4 separate regions of the Homo sapiens genome follow, and regions 2, 3 and 4 are each linked to region 1. Evidence: promoter capture Hi-C in human tissues and cell types (Jung and others, 2019). All regions are on one chromosome and are shown on one strand. The core of a region is centred on a gene start or on the middle of the fragment in contact, and the rest is flanking DNA. Distances in the headings are between cores, read along the strand shown.

What was found. The method cuts DNA at HindIII sites, captures the fragments that hold promoters and counts their contacts. A contact is called where the count stands out against the background at its distance.
Region 2: the fragment with the promoter of LIG1 here is called in contact with the fragment with the promoter of AP2S1 in region 1 in 1 of the 25 tissues and cell types used here (dorsolateral prefrontal cortex).
Region 3: the fragment with the promoter of SNRPD2 here is called in contact with the fragment with the promoter of AP2S1 in region 1 in 1 of the 25 tissues and cell types used here (dorsolateral prefrontal cortex).
Region 4: a contact is called between a fragment that was not itself captured here and the fragment with the promoter of AP2S1 in region 1, in 1 of the 25 tissues and cell types used here (dorsolateral prefrontal cortex).

Annotation. Positions count from the first base shown.
Region 1 is chr19:46,847,362-46,853,181 of GRCh38, forward strand. It overlaps AP2S1 (adaptor related protein complex 2 subunit sigma 1), which reads right to left and starts at 3,485. Exons shown (of 5, transcript NM_004069.6): 1 at 3,403-3,485. The coding sequence starts at 3,405. RefSeq lists an enhancer at 3,500-3,809. The HindIII fragment of the contact is 18,087 bases long and covers 2,795-5,820 here.
Region 2 is chr19:48,167,473-48,173,292 of GRCh38, forward strand. LIG1 (DNA ligase 1) reads right to left here and starts at 2,872. Exons shown (of 28, transcript NM_000234.3): 1 at 2,769-2,872. ZSWIM9 (zinc finger SWIM-type containing 9) reads left to right here and starts at 3,208. Exons shown (of 4, transcript NM_199341.4): 1 at 3,208-3,242; 2 at 4,322-4,605. The coding sequence starts at 4,331. RefSeq lists silencers at 2,311-2,380, 2,411-2,460, 3,261-3,400 and an enhancer at 2,354-3,013. The HindIII fragment of the contact is 31,276 bases long and covers 1-5,820 here.
Region 3 is chr19:45,689,575-45,695,394 of GRCh38, forward strand. SNRPD2 (small nuclear ribonucleoprotein D2 polypeptide) reads right to left here and starts at 2,379. Exons shown (of 3, transcript NM_001384647.1): 1 at 2,313-2,379. The coding sequence starts at 2,314. QPCTL (glutaminyl-peptide cyclotransferase like) reads left to right here and starts at 3,092. Exons shown (of 7, transcript NM_017659.4): 1 at 3,092-3,336; 2 at 3,839-3,982. The coding sequence starts at 3,130. RefSeq lists enhancers at 1,915-2,635, 2,454-2,583, 2,594-2,723, 3,249-3,799. The HindIII fragment of the contact is 8,059 bases long and covers 1-5,820 here.
Region 4 is chr19:45,713,978-45,719,797 of GRCh38, forward strand. All of the region lies in intron 1 of FBXO46 (F-box protein 46), which reads right to left. Among named protein-coding and RNA genes, the nearest start is that of FBXO46, 14 kb to the right of the region's middle. RefSeq lists enhancers at 2,979-3,649, 3,650-4,320, 3,763-3,812. The HindIII fragment of the contact is 7,183 bases long and covers 1-5,820 here.

The sequences.
Region 1 (5,820 bases), core at 2,235-4,734:
GCACACCACCACGCCCAGCTAACTTTTTGTATTTTTAGTAGAGACAGTGTTTCACCATGTTGTCCAGGCTGGTCTCGAACTCCTGGCCTCAAGCGATCCACCCACCTCATCCCCCCAAAGTGCTGCATCAGGCGTGAGCCACTGCACCCCACCTAATATCACCACTATCTAATTTATTATCTAATACCAGAACATTTTCATCATCTCCCCCCAAAAAACTCCCCACCCATTAGCAGTCACTCTCCGTTCCCCCAGGGCCTGGCAGCCACGAGTCTCCTTTCTGTCTCTGTGGATGTGTCTGTTCTGGACATTGTATATGAGTGGAATCATGCACTCTGTGGCTTTCGTGTCTGGCTTCCTTCACTCAGCGTGACGTTTTCCAGGCTCATCTGTGGGGTGGCAAGCGGCAGAGCTGCAATTCCTTTCCGTGGCTGAGTGATCCTCTGTTGGATGGATAAGGCCGTACTTCGGGCATTTGGGTTGTTTCTGCTTTAGGGCTATTATGAATAATACTGCTATGAACATTCGTGTATGAGTTTTCGTGTGGATGGATCATTTCTCTTGGGTATATACCTAAGAGTGAGATTGCTGGCTCATAGGGTAACGCTATGTTTAACTTTCTCAGGAATTGCTAAACCGTTTTCCAAAGCGTCTGCCACTTTCATGACTTAACTTTGGTGCCACTTTGGTGCCTGAGTTTACTGTGAGGAGTAAAGGATATTCCTGGCCGGTCACGGTGGCTCACACCTGTAATCCCAGCACTTTGGGAGGCCAAGGCGGGCAGATCACTTGAGGTCAGGAGTTCGAGACCAGTTTGGCCAACATGGTGAAACCCCATCTGTACTAAAAATACAAAAATTAGCCAGGTGTGATGGGGGGCAGGGGGGAGGCGGCTATAATCCCAGCTACTCGGGAGGCTGAGGCATGAGAATCACTTGAACCCAGGAGGCAGAGGTTGCAGTGAGCTGACATTGCACCATTGCTCTCCAGCCTGGGTGACAGAGCGAGACGCTGTCTCAAAAAAACAAAAACAAAAACATAGAGGTATAGTACAGTGACTGGCACGTACTAAGTGTTACATAAGAACCAGCTCTTAGCAGCATTATATTTTCCATTATGTGATGTTCAGAAAACCATGGCCAAAGCTTACTCCATTAGAAGTTCTGGGCCCATTTCTGTCTGAGACAGGCATGCTCATGCCCATTTTATAGATGAGGAAACTGAGATTTAGGGAAAGGAAGTCTCACAGCCAGAAAGCAGAGGTGGGAGTCCAAAGGCTTTGCTCTGAACCACCTGACCCCAACTTGTGGGAGCCTTCTCTCTTAGGAAAGAGAGCCCTCTAGTCCTGTCTTTTTCTTTTCTTTTTTGTTTTCAGACAGTCTCACTCTGTTGCCTAGGCTGGAGTGCAGTGGCACTGTCTCGGTTCACTGCAACCTCTACCTCCAGGTTCAAGCGATTCTCCTGCCTCAGCCTCCTAAGTACCTGGGATTACAGGCGCATGCCACCATGCCCGGCTAATTTTTGTATTTTTAGTAGAGACAGGGTTTCACCATGTTGGTCAGGCTGGTCTCGAACTCCTGACCTTGTGATCTGCCTGCCTCAGCCTCCCAAAGTGCTGGGGTTACAGGCGCGAGTCACTGTGCCCAGCCTTTTTTTTTTTTTTTTTTTTGAGACAGAGTCTCACTCTGTCGCCTAGGCCAGTGGCACAATCTCGGCTCACTGCAGCCTCTGCCTCCCGGGTTCAAGCGATTCTCCTGCCTCAGCCTCCCAAGTAGCTGGGATTACAGGCATCCACCACCACACCTGGCTTATTTTTGTATTTTTAGTAGAGACGGGGTCTCACCACGTTGGCCAGGCTGGTCTCGAACTCCTGACCTTATGTGATCCGCCTGCCTCAGCCTCCCAAAGTGCTGGGATTACAGGCATGAGTCACCGCCCCAGCCTGAGAGTCTTTCCTAAGCCTCATTCTCCACACACTCTATCCTCCCTCCCCCAACCAACCAAACTGGACCGGAACAGGATGTTACACTCTCCTTCCAAGAACTCCTGCTGAGCCAGGGAAAACCACTTCCTAGCAGGGCAGGGGTCCCAGGCAGGAAGGGACGTTGGGGGGCCTACACCAGGCAGCCACAGCCTGGGAGCAGAGCCGGAGACATATTCACACAGTTAGGAGAACTAGAAGCAAACCCACAGAGTTGACAAAAAGCTCTGCCTCTTACTCCCAAATTCCCTTGTATACCTCTCCCTGTTTTCTTCCCATTTGGAATCTCAAGTCCCCTCCGTCCTGAATCTCTGCATCCTCACGCCTCTGCTGTCCCCTCTAGATGCCCCCCAACCTTCCCTGTCTCCAATCCCCCTCCTCTGGAGTTGTTCCCTTTTGACCTCCACTTTCTCAGTCTCAGTTCCCCTCCTTGGGGCCTCAATGGGCTTTTTACTGGTGACATCCCTTGTCCCACTCCCAAGCTTCCTCCCTTCTTCAAAAGGTCACATTTTGCCTCCAAGGACCCTGTTCCTGGAGGAGACTCCGCCCCCGCTCTGACACTCTTTCTCATTCGTTTTCTTTCCCAACTTCCAGCCCAAAGAACCCTTTCCTAGATCCAAAGCCCCAACCTGGGGGATAGGGGCACTCCTAAATCCAATGTTGAGTCTTTGCCCCAACAAAGATTCCTCCCCAGGTCTCACACTTTCAAGCCTACTCCCCACCCCACAAGATCTCTCCTCTTGGAAAGACCTATTCAGTTGCTCCCCATTCTTTCCGAGTGTCCATCTTACCTCCAGGTCCTCTCTCCTTTTACAGCGCTTTCCCAGACCCTTAAGTTTCATTCCCTACAGTTGCCTCCTTTTGGTTTCCTGTGCCAGGTCTCTTCTTGAGATCATCCCTCTCTCACAGGCAGTCTCCTGCCCCTGTCTCAACATCCCCTCTCCACCTGCAATCAGATCCTTGTCTCTAGAGACTCCTCCCATCAAGAAAACCTCCCTCCCCTTTTCCAAGGTCTCGCGTTCTCGTCCCAGCGCTCCCGCCACACTTCCAGAGCGCCTTCCTCTTTCGGACGCCCTCTCCCCACCTCCAATGCCTTCTCGCTACCCACAAGACTGTGTCTCACGAGTTTCCTCTCGTTTCAAAGCTTCCAACCATCTACAACGTTTCCCACCTGCACAGCCCTTTCCCCTTGGAACACCACCCCCAATGCCCGTCGCCGCGAGACCCCTGGTAACCCCCGCGCGCAGAATCACCGCCCTGTGCCCTCCTTCCCGGCCCTGGATCGGTCCCAATCCCCAGAGCCCGCGCCTGACCCAGACCATCCGCGGCAGAGAAGGGACTTGTCAGCGCCCGATCCAGCCTCGGCTATTTACGCGTGGGCCCCCCCTCCGCCAGTCCCCGGCGTAGCGCTCCCCCGTTACCATGGCGACCCCCGTCCAGACCCCAGCGGCCCCGGTCCCGCGGCGACTGGGCAGCTCCGGCTCAGGGTGCAGTTGTAGGGCCCAGAGCTAGAGCGGACTTCCGGTAGAAAAACCCGCCTGCCTTCTCGCGCACAGACCCCTGGGAGTTGTAGTTTCACCAAAGGGGCCAGCCTGGGTGAAGATGGGTGAAGAGTCAGAGCCAGTCCTTTTCCTACCAAACGAGTCAGATCCCAAGTGCATGCTGGGATTTGTGGACAAACATCTTTACAGAGGACTACAATTCCCGAGATGCTGAAGAACCAGCGGTGAAGGCGTTGCATTCAGGGAAATGTAGTTCTCTTAGGTCCCCTCCCCCCACCCAGGGGAGAAGGGCATGCTGGGAATAGTAGTTTTAAATTTTAAAAAACTGTCCTGGGGAGATAGAAAATGTCTTTCCATTCCTCATCCAGTGATTTCTTTAATTTTTTTAAAAATAGAGACAGGGGTCTAGATATATTGCCTAGGTTGATCTCGAACTCAGCTTCAAGCGACCCTCAGCCTTCCAAATCACCAGGATTACAGGCATGAGCCACCACAACACCAAGCCAGTGTTTTGCTTAAAATACGTTGCGTGTGTCTCTCGGGAGACAACAGTTTAAAAGCATAAATTTGAACCGGCCCGGCGCGGTGGCTTACTCCTGTAATCCCAGCACTTTGGGAGTCCGAGGCAGGCAGATCACTTGGTTAGGAGTTCGAGACCAGCCTAGCCAGCATGGCGAAACCCCATCTCTACTAAAAATACAAAAAATTAGCCAGGCATGGTGGTGCGCACCTGTAGTCCCAGCTACTCGGGAGGCTGAGGCAGGAGAATCACTTGAAGCCCGGAGGCAGAGGTTGCAGTGAGCCCAGATCTCGCCACTGCACTCCAGCCTGGGCAATAGAGAGAGACTCCAAAAAAAAAAAAAAATCTCTAGTTTGGCGGGGGCATGATGGCCCATGCTTGTAATCCCAGCACTTTGAGAAGCTGAGGTGGGTGGATCACCTAAGGTCAGGACTTCGAGACCAGCATGGCCAACACGGTGAAACCATTTCTACTAAAAATATAAAAATTAGCTGGGTGTGATGGCAGGTGCCTGTAATCCCAGCAACTCGGGAAGCTGAGGCAGGAGAATTGCTTGAACCTGGGAGGCAGAGGTTGCAGTGAGCCGAGATCACACCATTGCACCCTAGCTGGAATGACAAGAGCGAAACTCTGTCAAAAAAAAAAAAAACCCTCCAGGTCAGCAGTTAGTTTAGTGTTTTTTTGGTGTGTCTTTGTTTTTGCTTTTTTCTGAAAGAGGGTCTCCCTTGGTCACCCAGGCTGTAGCGCAGTGGCATGATCTCAGCTCACTGAAGCCTCAACCTGCTGGGCTCAAGTGATCCTCCCACTTCAGCCTCCCGAGTAGCTGAGACTACATACACATGCCGTCACACCTGGCTAATTTTTTGTACTTTTTGTAGAGACAGGGTCTTGCTATGTTGCCTAGGCTGCTCTTGAACTCCTGAGCTCAAGCGATCCTCCCTCCTCCACCTCCCAAAGTATTGAGATTACAGGCGTGATTTTTTAAATGGCCTTTATTACATTTTAAAAATTATTTTATTTGCCCTATGAGTATGTGTGTATGTTTGTCTAGATCTCTCATTAGGTAGTGAGTTGTTGAGGGCAGGGACCCTGTCTGATAACTGTATCTTCATTACCTAGAACATGACAGATGGTAAGCAGTCAATAAAGTTATTACTATTAGTACTGAGGGGAGATTGGCCCTAATAAGAACAAAGCATGCCAGGCATGGTGGCTCACTCCAGTAATCTCAGCACTTTGGAATGCCAAGGCAGGCAGATCACCTGAGGTCAGGAGTTCGAGACCAGCCTGCCCAACGTGGCGAAACAGCACCTCTAATAAAAATACAAAAATTGGCCGGGCTTGGTAGCACTTGCCTGTAATACCAGCTACTTGGGAGGCTGAGGCAGGAGAAGCACTTGAACCCTGGAGATGGAGGTTGCAGTGAGCCGAGATCGTGCCACTGCACTCCAGCCTGGGGGACAGAGAGAGAGAGAGACTCCATTTCAAAGAAATAATAATAATAAATTAAATAAATAAAACAAAATGTATTGTAGAATTATGTAAATTTAAGGTATAGTACTGGCAGAATAACCAACACATAGTTGTTGAATATTATAGGGGCAAAAAGAGGCCAGAGATCATTTCTGTCTTGTGTACTTTTCTGTCTCCAACAGGGTTGATACTAGGATGACACAAGCAAAGTGTCCAGGTTGCAAAATTTTAAAAGGACCTCACTCTTAGATGCCAATTCCTGTCTTACACAGGACTGAGAATATGTGCCTCATTAAATTTTGTGCCCTCAACACGTCACTTGCCTCCCCTTAGTCCCAGTCCTG
Region 2 (5,820 bases), core at 1,622-4,121, 1.3 Mb after region 1:
ACTCTCTACAGCCTTGGCCGCCACATGTTGGCACCACAACTCAAACTCAATTTTGGAATCAAAAAACTCAGTAGGCCGGCACTGTGGCTCACGCCTGTACTCCCAGCACTTTGGAAGGCTGAGACAGGCGGATCACGAGGTCAGGAGTTCAAGACCAGCCTGGCCCGCATGGTGAAACCCCATCTCTACTAAAAATGCAAAAAATTAGCCAGGCATGGTGGTGCCAGCCTGTAATCCCAACTACTCAGGAGGCTGAGGCAGGAGAATCACTTGATCCCAGGAGGCAGAGGTTGCAGTGAGCTGAGACTGCACCACTGGACTCCAGCCTGGGCGACAGAGCGAGACCCCGTCTTAAAAAAAAAAAAAAAAAAAAAAAAACAAACAAAAAAGAAACTCAGCAATTTCCAAACAGAGTTTCTCAGGGCCAGTTGGGGAGCAGGAAGTAAGCAATGCTTCAACCAAACAGTTCACACAGAAAGCAGGTTAGGGACTTAGCCACCAAAATCCTGAGGGCAAAGGAGAAAACTATTACGATCCCTCCTGAGTGCTCAACTGCCTAGGTACTTGACATTCTCAATTATACTGACTCTCCACAACAACTCTGTTACAGAAACTAAGGCACAGAGGGGTTTTCAAAGGAACTTAACCTGCATCTATAGTACGTTCCACCCCAGGTCGGCCTGCTCCACAGCTCACCTCTTAACCACCAGACTGAGTTGCAAGGGAAGGAGAAATACATAAGCGTTTACTGGGAAGCCTACTCTATGCCTGACAGGCTGATCACATTCTCAAATACCCTCAATCCTCAAGTCAGCCCTCCAAGACAGGTGAGATCATCCCCACTTTATAGATGAAGGTAATGAGGACAGAGGAACATAGCTGGGGTTCAGGCAAGGCTTCAAAACCCGGTGTGGCTGGCTCCAAAGCCCACGTTCCTTTCTCCTTACCACGGTACTCAAGGCTGGCTTCTCAACTCTGTGTACTGCTGAGTTGGGGGGAACAAACTGGTTGATGCCTCTGGAGGACCACCTGGCGTCTCTATCGGAACGGCAACCCCACTTCTGTGTATTTGGCCCACAGAGACCCTCACAGGTGGACCAAGTGAGGCACAAAGTTACCTGCTGCAGCACTAACTGTAATGAGAGAAGACTGGAAACTGGTGGAATGTCTACCCTTAGGGAACTGGTTCCCTCATTACTGGAATACCATATGGTAGAATATTGTTCAGGGTTAAAATTAAATGAATGATGGATAAAAGGTATAGGAGTTTTTTGGGGGGATGATAAAAATATCCTAAAATCGATTATGGTAATAACTGCACAACTCAGCGCATACACTGAAAACCACTGACTTGTACACTTTAAATGGGCACTTTAAATACACTGAAATACACTTTAAATACACTGAAAACCGCTGACTTGTACATTTTAAATGGGCAAAATTGTACACTTTAAATGGGCAAACTGTATAATTGTGAATTATATCTCAATAAAGCGGTTACCAAAATGAAGAGATAATGACAGGAAAAATATCAAGTAAGGATGAAACAGTACTCAGTAATAAAAAGAAACGAAGCACTGATACAAGCAACAACTTGGGTGGACCTCCAGGGCATTGTGCAGAGTAGAAAAAAGGTAACATCCTAATAATATATGATTCCATTTACATAACAATCTCCGAATGACAAAACTAGAGATGGTGAACACATTAGCGGTTGCCAGGGGCCTGGGGAGGAGTTCTTATGTGGAGAGGGAACTGTTCTATATCACAATTACGATGGGGGTTACACAAATCTATACAAGGAATCAAGCTGCACGGGCACACAGATGCACAATCACACTCACACCACACAAACTGGTGAAAACTGAACAAGGTCTGTAATCTAGTTAACAGAACTGTATTGATGTCAATTTCCTGGTTTCGATATTGGGACTACATAAGATGTCACCATTAGGGGAAGATGGATATACTCTTTTCACAACTTCCTTGAATCTATAATTATTTCAAAATAAAAAGTAAAAACAAGAGGTAAGCTCCATCCCTTTATCAAGCATACATTAGGCCAGACGTCTCCCCATTCAGATGATTCTCCATCTTTTACGAGCCCTTTACCTAGACCTGGACCTTACCACTGACCTCTCCCTGACACCACCCATCTCCCTCCAGTAGGGCCCACTCCTTCCAGGTGATGCTGCTGCCCGCGATTTACCTTCTTCTAGCCCCGCCCCCTCAGCACTTCCAGGTGGCCCCCGCCCCCTCAGCACTTCCGGTTCCCAGCCAGCCCCACCCTTGGCACCTCCCCCTTCCAGGTGGCCCCGCCCACACGCAATCTTTTCCCCGGCCCCGCCCCTTAGCTCCCTTCAGCCCCTCCCCCTCCCAGATAGCCCCGCCCCCTCGGGGGGCCTTCCGATTTCCAGCTGGCCCCGCCCACACAGTTTTCCCCCCCCCGGCCCCGCCCCTCAGTTCCATTTGGCCTCTCCCCTTTCCAGGTGAACTCGCACCTCAAGGCCTCTTCTCAGAGGACCTGTCCAACTGTCTCTGTCTCTCGTCTACCCTCTACCTGGCCCCCCTCCCTCTGGGAGACACCTCTCTGCACTCTCCGGCGGCCCGCAGCCCGCGCTCTTCCGTCTCCACCGCGCTCTCGGCAGCCTCAGCGTCCCCACGCCCACTCCTCTGCAGACACCCCGACATGGCGAAGCATAGGCCCCAAGCATTCGGCGCACCCGCCGCCCTCCGCCTCCCATCTGCTTGCGGACGGCCCCACTTGCCTTGCGTTGGTCCCGCGCGCCGCTGCCCGGGCAACACACTCAGATCCGCCAGGCGCGCCTCTGCAGTCCCAAGTTCGCGCCACGGCATTCGCGCGCAGACGTCTGCGGGCGGGGGCGGGGCAGAGCCTAGGGGCGGGACCTGGGCACCGTCCGCACCGCCGCCGTCGCGCGGAGGACACTGGGAGTCGTAGTCTCCCGAATGGGAGGAGGGCGGGAAAAGGGGTGAAGTGGGGCGAGCCCTCCCGCAGAGCACACTGGGAAAATGCCCGCGCTTTCCCTCGCCCTGGATGAGCGGGTGTGGCTGAGGGTCTGAGGAGTGACTGGCAGGGAAAGAGGAGGAATCGGTGGAAGCGCCCCCGCGAGGCACGGCGGGAAGAGAGGCGGGAGACCGCGCGGGGCATCCCGGGAGCAAGGGCCGGGCCAGGCCTGGGCGCGGGGCATTGTGGGAGGTGGACGCCGCTCCGGGGCGGGTAGGTGAGTGGGGAGGGGCGGGAAGGGTGCACATCTTGGGGAGGGGAGAGGCACAGCTAGGTGGGACGGCGGGGCTGGAAGGTGCCGCAGCGGGCGGGGAGGGGGGGAGTAGGAGGGTCGGGAGCGGGCTGGATGGGGCTGCTCGAGGGGAGACGCGCAGCTGGACGTGGGGGGAGCATCTGGGGTGAAGGAGCCCATCCGAGGACGAGGGGCCATGTCTAGAACGAAGATGCATATTGCGGGGGATGGTGGATGTAACTGGGAGGAGGGGCCCACAGCTGGACTGGGGGCCGCATCTGAGGAGGAGGGGACCACAGGTGAATACTGGTGACACTTCCGAGGAGAACTAGCCACAAGTGGGGCACACACCTGTAGGCGAAGCGTGGATAACTGCATGTGGGGAGTACATCTGGAGATGAGAGTGTCTCAGGGAAGCCCCAGCTACAGCTGCATGTGGCGAGCCATAGGGTCATAATCGGGGGAAGGGGCAACAGCTGCACGCCAGAGGCACATCTGGGGAGTGCGGAGCCACAGGTGCATGAAGCATGTGACCGGGTGAGGGGTCCGTGGCCTGGATGTGGGAGCACATCTGGAGATGGAGCGTCTTTGGAGGGGTTACAGCCAACTGTTGGCACATGGAAGGAGGAGTTCCAGATGAATACGAGAGTTAGAAGTTACTCTTGGGTGAGAGACACAGCTGGAAGGGGAGGAGGTTTTAGCTGGAATTTGAGAACACATTTGAGGAGATGTCCTTAAGGGACATCTGAGCTTAAGGGTCGTATTTTGGGAGGAGAGATTCCAACTGTACCTAAGGGTCACATCTGCGGAGGAGGAGACGAGTTGGAATTAGGAATCAAGATGACAGGCTCCAAGTGAACCAGGGATAAGGCGGTGGGAGGAGGCCAAAGATAGGATGGAGGTTGATATTTATATATTTGGAGAAAAACAGGCACGTCCGACCCCGGGCTACCCACCTCGATAGAGGCACCAGCAACCGACGGGGCAGGCCAAGAATGGAGTAGATGAGATACCCCGGGTGGGAATGGGTCTGATATCCACCTGTTCTCCCCTCCTCCACGCAGGCCCCCAGGATGGAGCGGCCGGAGCCCCCACCCGGCACGGCTGCGGGGCAGGAGGAGCAGGAGCTGCGGGAGCGGGCCTTCTTCTCGTGGGCCGAGTTCAGCCGCTTCTTCGACGCGTGGTGCCAGCAGCGGCTGGCGCTCTTCTTCGTCAAGAGCTCCATGCACCTGGCGCGCTGCCGCTGGGCCAGTGCGCCCCCGCTCTACACGCTCATCGACGTGCTCAAGTACAGCTACGTGCGGCTTGTGTGCAAGGACGTGCGTGCGCCCAGCCGGCCCGCCGTGGGGTGCGTGAACCTGAGCCGCTGTCCTGCTGGGGGGAAGGGGAGCACCGGGGGTGGGTGTGGGTGGGAGACGGGCAGAGAACACCCCACCCAGAGATGCAGAGGGGGAGAGGCCAACTGAGGCAGCCAAATACACCTTGCAGAGAGGCGGGAGTCAAGGAGGGACATGTACTGAGAGAAGAAGAGGAGCTAGAGAGACAAAGATACTCACGGAGCAAGAGATGGTGTGGGCCCGACTTACAGACTTTTTTTTTTTTTTCGAGATGGAGTCTCGCTCTGTCGCCCAGGCTTGAGTGCAGTGGTGCCATCTGCAGCCTCCACCTCCTAGGTTCAAGTGATTCTCCCGCCTCAGCCTCCCGAGTAGCTAGGACTACAGGCACCTGCCATCATGCCCGGCTAATTTTTGTGTGGTTTTTTGTTTTTGTTTTTGTTTTGTTTTGCTTTGTGTTGTTTTTTTGAGACAGAGTCTTGCTCTGTCACTCAGGCTGGAGTGCAATGGCACAATCTCGGCTCACTGCAACCTCCACCTCCCGAGTTCAAGCGTTGTTTCTCCTGCCTCAACCTCCTGAGTAGCTGGGATTACAGGCACGCGCCACCACGCCTGGCCAATTTTTGGATTTTTGTAGAGATGGGGTTTCACCATGTTGGCCAGGCTGGTCTCAAACTCATGACCTCAGGTGATCTGCCCGTCTTGCCTCCCAAAGTGCTGGGATTACAGCCGCGAGCCACTGTGCCCGGCCTGACTTACAGAATGTAATAGAGACTTCGAGAGGCAGAGCGTAAAACACACACACCCCAAGAGGAGAAAATAGTCACGGAAAATTCCAGAAACATGGAGACATGGAGGCAGAGACACCAGAGACAGCCAGGGAAACAGAAGAGCCAGGTTTTGTACACGTGACAAAGACTGGGAGACAGAGACTGGGAGACTGAACTGCAGAGAAGCCGCAGGATAAAGAAAAGGATCCATCTATTCAGTGAATAAGGGGCCAGGTCCCATGCTGTGGGCTGGGGATATTCTAGTTGGAGCGATGGAGTTGGGCAAGAGACAAAAATCCCTGCCCTTCTGGTACTTTCTGACTGGACAGAAAGATTGACGTTAAAAGAACAAGCTCACAGGTAGTTCCCTACAACTGTGCAAAGAGGGGCAGGTGAGAAATCCAGGAGAGCCAGAATCACACCCAGGTGGCCAGGGGTATTTTAATGGACCCCAATTGT
Region 3 (5,820 bases), core at 1,129-3,628, 1.2 Mb before region 1:
GTGGTGCACGCCTGTAATCTCAGCTACTCGGGAGGTTAAAGTAGAAGAATTGCTTGAACTCAGAGAGTCGGAGGTTGCAGTGAAGTGAGATCATGCCACTGCACTCCAGCCTGGGTGACAGAGCGAGACTCTTGTCTCAAAAAATAAATAAATACAAATTAGAAAATACAAAAATTAGGCCAGATGCGATGGCTCACGCCTGTAATCCCAGCACTTTGGGAGGCCGACGCGAGGTGGATCGCCTGAGCTCAGGAGTTCGAGACCACCCAGGGCAAGATGGTGAAACCCTGTCTCTTCTAAAAATGCAAACAAATTAACCAGGTGTGGTGGCGCATCCCTCTAGTCCCAGCTACTTGGGAGGCTGAGGCAGCAGAAACGCTTGAGCCCCAGCAGCGAAGGTTGCAGTGAGCCAAGATTGCGCCACTGCACTCCAGCTTGGGCTACAGAGTGAGACTCCATCTCAAAAAAAAAATTAGGCCGGGCGCGGTGGCTCACGCCTGTAATCCCAGCACTTTGGGAGGCCGAGGCGGGCGGATCACGAGGTCAGGAGATCGAGACCATCCTGGCTAACACGGTGAAACCCCGTCTCTACTGAAAATACAAAAAATTAGCCGGGCGAGGTGGCGGGCGCCTGTAGTCCCAGCTACTCGGGAGGCTGAGGCAGGAGAATGGCGTGAACCCCAGGGGGCGGAGGCTGCAGTGAGCCGAGATTGCGCCACTGCACGCCAGCCTGGGCGACAGCGAGACTCCGTCTCAAAAAAAAAAAAAAAAAAAAAATTAGCTGGGCATGGTGGCGCATGCTTGTAATCCTAGCTACTTTGAAGGCTGAGGCAGGAAGATCGCTTGAACCCAGGAGACAGAGCTCGTGCTACTACACTCCAATCTGGGTGACAGAGCGAGACTCCATCTCAAACAAACAAAACAAAAGAAAACCCTCCCATCCTCCCCCCATCTCAGTGTAGAAAGTAAAACCCCGACCAGACACGGTGGCTCACACCTGTAATCCCAGCACTTTGGAAGGTCGAGGCGGGTGGATCATTTGAGGTCAGGAGTTTGAGACCAGCTTGGCCAACATGGTGAAACCTGGTCTCTACTAAAAATACGAAAGTTAGCTGGGCATGGTGGTGGGTGCCTGTAATCCTAGCTACTCGGGAGGCTGAGGCAGGAGAATCGCTTCAACTCAGGCGGCGGAGGTTGCAGTGAGCTGAGATCGCACCATTGCACTACAGCCTGAGCAACAGAGCAAGGCTCCGTCTCAAAAAAAAAAAAAAAAAGAAAAAGAGAAAAAGATTTTTCTTTTCCCTTGGGGACTAGAGGTTTCATTCACTGATGTATCCTATGTAGCTTAAGCAGTGTCTGATACATAAGCATTCAATGTAATATCTGCTGCACTAATAAATGCGCAAAATCATGTCAATGACTCGTTCGTTATCCGTGTAAGTTGTGAATCAAGTCGAAAACGCACCCGTCTCCAGCTCAAATGATCAAGATAAGTCCCTTATTTCAAATAATTATTTCTAAAAGTCCTAACTTCCCTCCCCCATTATTCGTTTTATTTCTTTTGTTTCGTTTTGAGATGGAGTCTTACTCTGTCGCTCAGGCTGGAAGTGCAGTGGCGCAATCTCGGCTCACTGCAACCTCCGCCTCCCGGGTTCAAGCGATCCTCCGGCCTCAGCCTCCCGAATAGCTGCAATTACAGGCGCCCGCCACTACGGCCGGCTAATTTTTGTATTTTTGTTAGAGACGGGGTTTCACCACAATGGCCAGGCTGGTCTCAAACTCCTGACCTCAGGTGATCCGCCCGCCTCGGCCTCCCAAAGTGCTGGGATTTACAAACCTGAGCCACCGCGCTCGGCCTCCCCCAGTATTCGTAAAATCGCTGCCCCTTAACATTCATTTCAATAGGACTAATTATCTAGGACCACTCCCGTTATCGTTTAAAACATGTTTTTCATAATTAAATTTTTTTTTTTTTTTGTAGAGACGGGGGTCTCGCTATGTTGCCTAGGCTAGTCTCGAACTCCTGTGTTCCAGCGATGCTCCGCCTTGGCCTACTAAAGTGCTGGGATCACAGGAATGAGCCCCCGCGCCCAGCCCAGGGCGTTATCTGATAAAGCTGTCCCCTCTCCCGAAGTCACGATGCGTCAAAGGCCCCACGCCCGTTCTCAAACTCATCAGGAGAAAAGCAGGACGCTGCATCCCTAAAACATCTGCCCCTGCCCCCCCCGCTCTGCTCAACCCTTCCCACACTCAATCGGTCAAATATCCACCCTCAACCTCATTCCCGCCGCCTAAGCCTAGCCCGGCCTCACATGATGGTCACTACGCTCTCCGTTCACTCCCGTTTCCTCCGCGTTGCTGCTGCCTGAGGAGAGAGAGGCGGGACTTCCTCTTCCTGCGACCCACTTCCGTTGGCGCCTGCGCAAAGCCAACCAGTAAGTGGAGGCGTGGCCTGTTGCCACAGCATTCCCCACCAACGGTGCACAATGATGGAATAAAAGCTTCGGGTAGGGGTTCGCGGCCAGTCAGAACCACACGGGGGCAGATGTTTATGACAATGAAGACAAAAGGAAAGGCAGTCTGATTCAAACCGTTTCTTGAAGAATGGTACAGGTTGAAGGAGGGAAATGACAAGCTATTTCCAAATGCCCGCCGGCCGTGACTTCGGGGGCGCGGCCTCCGTGAAGCCAATCCGCTCCTCGCTTCGGAGACAGGCACCGCCCCTCTTCCCTCTGGGACGCGTTACTGACGTATCTACTGATCTTTCCGACCCTGCGCCACCAATCCCCTGCCTACATCCGGAAGGGGCATGGACCTGCGCCCGGGAGATCGAATATTTTCCATGATCAAACGCTGTTCATTGGCTTTCCCTCCTCCGCTAAGGCGGAGCCTACTTCTCTTGCGCTCCCATTTGGGTCGTGCCATTCTCAGGGGAACCAACCCCAATACCTAAGGGAGGCTGGGAGGCGTGTCCTCAGGACCGTAGTTCTTATTGGTTTCGCTGCTCGCTGTGGGGTGGGCTGGTGCAGCCGCAGCTGTTGCTTATTGGCCCACCGATTCCATGGGGAGGAACTTGGCTGGGCCTAAACTCAATCCGTGGTCTGGTACAGGTTTCAGGGCAAAGCGGCCATGCGTTCCGGGGGCCGCGGGCGACCCCGCCTGCGGCTGGGGGAACGTGGCCTCATGGAGCCACTCTTGCCGCCGAAGCGCCGCCTGCTACCGCGGGTTCGGCTCTTGCCTCTGTTGCTGGCGCTGGCCGTGGGCTCGGCGTTCTACACCATTTGGAGCGGCTGGCACCGCAGGACTGAGGAGCTGCCGCTGGGCCGGGAGCTGCGGGTGAGGCTGGGCGGGGACCCGGGCACCGCGGGGACCCTCATTCCCTCCCCGCTGTTACCCAGGGTTGACGTGGCTTTAGCGTACGGCCCTAACCGCAGATGCCACCGTCTTCGTCATCTGAGCGCATGACCCTTACCAAAGGAATAAGGCTTCGGGCTGGTTCTGCAACAGTAGCTTCCTTTTAAGAGGAAAGGTCTGAAATAGTAAGACGGGGGGGTTCAGGGTTCTACGCCTTTAGTCAACTATTTGGAAGAGTCCCTTCCTCCATCTCCCCTCTCTCTCACTGGGCCTCGATTTCCCCATCAAGTTTGAGGTAGGCTGGACCGGATGGTCTTGGAAGGACTTTTCCTGAGCCTTGGATTTATCCTAGAAGTCTCCGATGCTGGAGGCGGCAGATTAGGAAGAGAACCCGGGGCTCCTCGCGGGTGACGGCGCCCGGGGTAGGGTTGAAATGGGGGGGTTGCTCTCATTCTTCCCTTCCCTATCCCACCTCCTTCCCAAGGTCCCATTGATCGGAAGCCTCCCCGAAGCCCGGCTGCGGAGGGTGGTGGGACAACTGGATCCACAGCGTCTCTGGAGCACTTATCTGCGCCCCCTGCTGGTTGTGCGAACCCCGGGCAGCCCGGGAAATCTCCAAGTCAGAAAGGTAAAGGGACCCACCTCCAGTCCCTGACCCCCTAGCCCTCCAGGGAATGGGAAATAAGAATCCTGTTCAAGATCCCAAAGAAGCTAAGAGGAGGAACTGGGGCTCTGACTGGAGTTAATCGGACTCTAGACTCCATGCTGGTAACAAACCACCAGGCTGTACTGCCCCCCTTAATGCCCCCACCAAAAGCTTACTGTGTGCTAGGCATAGGCAACAGACAGCCCTATAAGGTGGGTACCAATATGATCTTCATTATGCAGATGGGGAAACTGAGGCTCAGAGAGGTTATACACATTGCACAAATCCTACAGATAATAAGTAGTAGACCTTAGCCGGGTGCAGTGGCTCATGCCTGTAATCCCAGCACTTTGGGAAGCCAAGGTGGAAGAATCACCTGAGAAGTTTGAGACTAGCCTAGTCAACCTAGTGAGACCCAATGTTTAGAAAATCATAGACCTAGAGTTGAACCCAAACAGGTTGGCTCCGAGCTGGTGCTGTAATGTATCTGTTGTCTTCCAGAAAGCATGAAGAGTCATTTAAAGGCCAGGCGCAGTGGTTCACACCTCTAATCCCAGCACTTTGGGAGGCCGAGACAGGCAGATCCCTCGAGATCAGGAGTTTGAGACCAGCCTGGCCAACATGGTGAAACCTCATCTCTACTAAAAATACAAAATTAGCCAGGCGTGGTGGTGGGTACCCGTAGTCCCAGCTACTTGGGAGGCTGAGGCACGAGAATCACTTGAACCCAGGAGGCGGAGACTGCAGTGAGCTGAGATTGCGCCACTGCACCCCAGCATGGGTGACAGAGCGAGACTCCATCTCAAAAAAAAAAAGTCACTTAAATACTGCCTGAGTCCCAATGCTACCTCATCCACTTAGATTGTGACCTTGGACTGGTTTCTTTTTTATTTTATTTTATTTTATTTTATTTTGAGATGGAGTCTCACACTGTCGCCTGGGTTGGAGTGCAGTGGCGCGATCTCGGCTCACTGCAACCTCCACCTCCCAGGTTCAAGCAAATCTCATGCTTCAGCCTCCTGAGTAGCTGGGATTACAGGTGTGCACCACCATGCCTGGCTAATTTTTTGTATTTTTAGTGAGACGGGGTTTCACCATATTGGCCAGGCTGGTCTCAAACTCCTGACCTTATGATCCGCCCACCTCAGCCTCCCAAAGTGCTGGGATTACAGGCGTGAGCCACCGCGCCCGGCCTGGACTAGTTTCTTAACCTCTCTGAGCCCATTTCCTCATCTGTAAAATGGGGTCATGTATTGGCAGTCCCTCCCCTAAATGGTTCCTAGAAGAGGGCTTAGCACACAGTGAGAGCTATTTAAGGGTAAGCTGTGATGAGTCTTGCTGGCTTCAAGAGGTGGGGTCTCCCCAACATCTGGCACCCAGTAGGTACTCACCAGCACTGTCAAGGGAATGATTTTAATCAGAGTAGGGGGCTGGGCACAGTGGCTCACATCTGTAATCCCAACACTTTGGGATGCTGAAGCAGGCAGATCACTTGAGGTCAGGAGTTCGAATACCAGGCTGGCCAACATTGTGAAACCCCATCTCTACTAAAAATACAAAAAATAGCCAGGCGTTGTAGGGGGCGCCTGTAACCCCAGCTACTCAGGAGGCTGAGTCAGGAGAATCACTTGAAGCCAGGAGGCAGAGGTTGCAGTGAGCCAAGATCAAGCCACTGCACTCCAGCCTGGGTGACAGAGCAAGACTCCATCTCAAAAAAAAAAAGAAAGAAAGAAAGAAATCCATTCAATCAGAGTGGGGCTTTAGTGTCAACCCATCTGCTCTGCATGGCTCAGGTCACGTGGCCCTTCTCCCCACCTCCT
Region 4 (5,820 bases), core at 1,429-3,928, 1.1 Mb before region 1:
AAAAAAAAAAAAAAGAACTCTATTCCCACTGCCATGCTCAGGTGAGCAGACAGAGGTTGCAGAGGGGATGAGAGATGCCCTTTTAACTTGCAGAGCGGGACCCTAACTGGCAGCACGCACCAACCCCATAGGTCCTACCCCACTGTCCAACTGCCTTTGCCCACAATCCAGAGGCCTTTAAACTGCCATAACTTTTACACTTAAGTGAAAGGACCACTGACAGACAAGGTCCTTTTTCTATTTGCTCACTCAGTAGCTCGTTCCTGAAAAGACAGAAATTCCCAGCCCCACCCACAGCTATGGCTGCTTAAACCCACAGAGAGAGGAACGAAATGCGCTGGGATGGGGATGAAAATCTGAGGTCAGATTCAGACAAGCACTTAAGAAATCGGCTTTTCTTTTTTTTTTTCAGGTAGTGGGGCTTAATGAGAATTTATTAAAGCTGTGTGTCCTCAGTCAGAAAAATGCACACCCTTGCAAAGACAGTACAGGGGATTCCCTAAAGCACAGCCGTGGACCCGCGGAGTAAGAGGGCCTGTTCTAGAGCCTAGGAGGAGTTCCAGGCTGCAGGGAGCAATGATGGCACCACTGCACTCCAACCCGGGTGACAGAGTGAGACCCTCTAAAAAACAGAGAACAAAGCCGGGTGTGGTGGCTTGTGCCTGTAATCTTAGCACTTTGGGAGGCCGAGGTGGGCAGATTGCTTGAGCCCAGGAGTTTGAGACCAGCCTGGGCAAAATCCATCTCTACGAAAAAAGATACAAAAATTAGCCGGGTGGGGTGTGGCGCACCTGTAGTCCCAGCTAGTTGGGAGGCTGAGGTGGGAGTATCGCTTGAGCCCAGGAGGTGGAGGCTGCAGTGAGCTGTGATGCTGTGATCATACCACTGCACTCCAGCCTGGGTGACTGAGAGAGAACCCATCTTGGGAAAAAAAAAGAAAGAAAACACGAGGGTGCCTGTTCTAGCCTAGCTTTCTCCTCAAGCTGCACACAGATAAACAGAGGCTCAGAGTGGGGAAGGGTGACATAGCTAAGATTACAGTGGGTCCGGAGCAAAAAGAGGCTCTCAACTTGATTTCTGGACTCTTCAATTTAGGGCTCTGTTAATGACTATTTTATTTTGGAATGACTTGATGTGAATGACCTAATCTGGAGGCAATCTTGCGCATGAGTCCGACATGATCACTTTCACTGCAGTTTGAACCTACTAAGTAACATATGCCTCAATCTTTCTCTGGCTCATCTCCCTCCAGACAGCTCAAAACCAAAATGACCCTTTAAACCTTGAAACTTCCACATGCCTACAGGCCAGAGAGGTCAGCAAACTATGGCCCAGAAGCCTAATCCAGCTCGCTGTCTTTGTAAATAAAGTTTTATTGAAACATGCTCATTTGTTTATGGATGCTTTCATCTTCAACAGCAGAGCTGAATAGCAGAACAAAGACCACATGGCCTGCAAAGCTTAAAATACCCATTATCTGGCTCTTTATGGAAAAAGTTTGCCAACTCCTGCAGTACAGACCATCCCTCTAAATTCAAACAATTCCAGGCCTGGCACAGTGGCTCACACCTGTAATCCCAGCACTTTGGGAGGCCGAGGCAGGCGGATCATCTGATGTCAGGAATTCGAGATCAGCCTGGCTAACATGGCAAAACCCCGTCTCTACTAAAAATACAAAAATTAGCCAGGCGTGGTGGTGCGCGCCTGTAGTCCCATCTACTCAGGAGGCTGAGGCAGGAGAATAGCTTGAACCGGGAGGCGGAGGTTGCAGTGAACTGAGATCTTGCCACTGCACTCCAGCCTGGGCGACAAGAGCTAAACTCCATCTCAAAAAAAAAAAAAAAAAAAAGAAAGAAAACAAAACAAAATCCAGACAGCCTCCAAGCACTCACAGGTACCAGTAAACACAGAGAATCCCCATGTCAAGAATCTTTATCTCCACTCCATAATCCCCAATCCCACCTACCCCTCAAATACTTACAGTCCCTGCTGTAATCTCAGCTCAGTGTTAAAAATATCACTCCACAGCCTCCAAAACCTATAGATGGCTGTTTACCAACCACCAATTCACATACATGTTGAGTATCTCAAATCTGAAAATCCAAAATGCTCCCAAATTCAGAACTTTTTGAGTGCCAAGATGACACTGATAGGATATGCTCATTAGAGCATTTCAGATTTTTCAGACTTGGCATACTCAACTGATAAGTATAATGCAAATACTCAAAATCCGAAGAAATCCAAAATCCGAAACACTTTTTAGTCCCAAGATTTTCGGGTAAGGGATACTTGACCTGTATAACCAACTGCCCAGGGAGGCAGGCTAACACAGCAAAAGCCAGTCTCTACAGATGCCATCCTGCTACAACCTGGCCACCCCCTCAAGTCCCCTAATCAGTTCCAACCTTACCCCCAGCATCTCAATGTCCTCCCCCAAATATCGAAAAGCTTTCAAATACTACTTTAAACCACCGAACCTAAAAATATCCTCTCCAGCACTGAAGGGCCGAATCTCAGTCAATCTCTCACAGATCCCAACACAGCAATTCCCCAAACTATGTCATAAACAATCACTCTCCCGGAATCCTATACTCCCCCCAACCCTCCTCCATTATCTCCCAATTCCACTAGAAGCCTCCAACAGCAGACGAACTCTTTGAAAACACAAAAGCTCCCTAACACTTTAAGATGAATCTTAAACCATAAAAATGTTTCACAAAGCCAAAAAAAAAAAACAAAGAAACCTCACAAATGTTACAATAGCAGACATGTGCTTACTGCACGCTCGCTGCGAGCTTACTAGGTAGGTACTGCGCTAACAATTCCTAATCCTCCTCGGTCCCTAGGAAGCAGGTAGTGTTATTAATGCCTAGTTCCCGATGAGACACAGGTGAAATCTCCTGTCCGGGTTAAGACAGGTAGGAAGTCAAGACGCGAGCCCAGACATTCCACCTCCAGGACTGGTACTCTCGGGCTCTTTGCTTCTGTCTCTCCGGGAGCTCCCCAAATTCTATGCCCAACAAACACTCCAAAACACAAAGGGAACCCGATCCCGAAAACACAACCGAACCTTCCGCATTACAAACGAACCCAAACTCCAAGGTGCCCCTTAAGCGCGAGAGAACCCCAAAAGTATCCCCTAAACCCACGTTAAAACTTCCCCAAGCCCCAGAACATTTTGCAAATGGAAAAGGAACCCCCAAATCTTGTAACCGCCCCCCCAAAGAAATCTTCCAAACCCCTCAGGTGACCCTCGAAACCTACACACGCCCCCAAAGAGCCCTCACCCGCAGCCCCCCCAGGCGGCGGGAGAAGGCTGCAGCCCACACGCATGCGCGCGAAAGGTAAAAGGGCCCGCCCCCTCGCTCCTTCCCTCCGGCCACCGCGCGGGCAGACTAGCAACTAGCTTCCCTCCGCCCTTTTGTTGACAGACGCGCGCGTGACGCTCTCAGCCAATGAGCGGCCGCCATTCGGGGCCGTGCCCATATAAGGCAGGCCTTGGCGAAGGGGCCCAACTTCGAAATAGGGAGGAGTAGGCGAGAGGTGATGGGAGTGGGTGGTGGGGTAGACACAGCCGGATGCAAGGGAGCGTGGAACAACTCCCAACGTCCAGCTAAACGGAACAAGGTCAGGGCAAAGGCCACGACACTCCAGGGGAGGCTTATTACACCACGTCCCCTCGAACAGAAGCCCTGATTGACGCTTGAGACTTAAAGGGCCAGGCAGCCCGGGGATTAAGAACACCAAGGCGGAAGGAAGCAGGCGGAGAGATCAGAGTATCCAGCTTTGGTTGGGAACTGTGGGGGCGGGGGGCGGGCTGAGGATTTCCGCGGGGGGAATTGGGCATCGGGATAACCCCACCCTGAAAAACAAATGGACAGAACCCTACGAAGGTTCCCACGGCAACTGAAAACAAGCCTCTAGGCCTGGCGTTCAAGGCTCAAGCCGTGTAGCCATTCGGAGCTGCCAGTTCAGCCTTTCCAAACAGGCGCCCCAAACCTGCCTCACTTAGTACAAAAGAGCAGCCAGAAAAGTCCTGTTAAAGCACAGTCCTATAAACCTGAACCCGTCCCTATCCTGGTGAGAACCTGCCATGGCTCCCCAGTGCCCTCTGGAAAACACCCAGGTACCCCACCTGTCCAGTCGCATCCCTCCCCACTCCTCCGCCCCGCAGGCAATACCCCAGTGCACCCTGGTGGGCACCTGATCTGGCATACATAGAATACTCAGGACCCATCTGATCCCCGGTAGGAGTGATCGTCTCCACGGTATGGATGAAGAAACTGACGCAGGGCAGGTCTCCTGACCACAAGGTCACACAGAGCTGGAGTGTGAGCTGGAGCAGGGATATGAAGCCAGGGAATCTGATTTCCTAGTCACTGTGCCCTACTGTTTCACTATATATTCCCTGGGGTTTCAGCTCGACCACCCCTCCTCTAAGAAGCTGACACCCCCAATCCCCCTAGGCCAGGTCAGGCTTCACCCAGGGCGTCCATGCGGTGGGCTCATTGCTGTCTATTCCTCAAAGTTACCGGGCTCTTGCCTTCCCTGGTCTCTGCATTTGCTGTTCCCACCAACTGCAATACATTCCCCCTCTGCAAGGCTCAATTCCTTACTTCATTCAGGTCTGTGTTCAAATGCAGTTTTATTAGAGAGGCCTTCTCCAACTCCCTTCCTGGAAATCACCCACCTGCCCAGAGGGGACCTCTGGGTTCCCTCTTCCCTGCCTACTCTGGGTCATCGTCTGGGGTGGGTCTCTCTCCAGGCCTGAGACAGGATCTTCTAACTCCCCCACACTGAGCCCAGCATAAGGCCCTACACTAGGTCAGCCTTCAGCAACTACTCCATGAAAATCTATTCATTGTAAAACATTGTGAACCAAAAATATGGAAAATCAAAAGACGGCAAAAAACTGGCTGGGAAAACACGAACCAAGAGACAAGTAGAGGAGTAACATTACCCCTTAAAAAAAAAAAAAAAAAAACTTGGCCAGGCACGGTGGCTCACACCTGTAATCCCAGCACTTTGGGAGGCAGAGGGGGGACACAATCCCTTGAGCTCAGGAGTCTGCGACCAGCCTGGGCAACATGGTGAAACCCCATCACTACAAAAAATACACAAATTAGCAGGGTGTGGTGGCACGTGCCTGTAGTCCCAAGTACTCAGGAGGCTGAGGTGGGAGGATTGCTTGAGCCCAGGAGGTAGAGGCTGCAGTGAGCTCAGATCAGGCCACTGCACTCCACTCTGGGTGACAGCACGAGACTGTCTTAAATTAAATTAAAAATAAATTAAATAAATAAAAAATAAATAAACTGACAAAAGCAATGGATGATGACGAAACAAAATGACCAATTATTTACTTCTCTACATGAGTCCCTAGGGCTGGGGGAGGGAGGTGGAAGTGACCCATTATACACAAAAGTTCTCAACATACATGATCCAAATACTATGGCTTCCAAATAGATAAAGCAAAAAACGACCATCTCTACACATGACAGCCATAAACTTACAAATGACAAGGGAAAGTTTGTTAAATCCACAATTGATATGGGAAAACAACATATTTCTAAGAAAAGACTGCTTGGGAAAATTAGTAAGGACCTGAACCACTCAATCTACACCCTTGGTTGAATGCCCCCAACAATTAAATAATCCACATATTTACATCCCTAGCATACATACATACATGGTGCATTTGCAAAAACTTGTCTCTGACATTCACTGTGGTCCTGCATGCTGGCCATTGTTGGGCGCTGGAACACACAGGTGACACTGAGCTCCCCAGGAATGGCTCATGGGAAAGGGGTCAGACATCCAAAC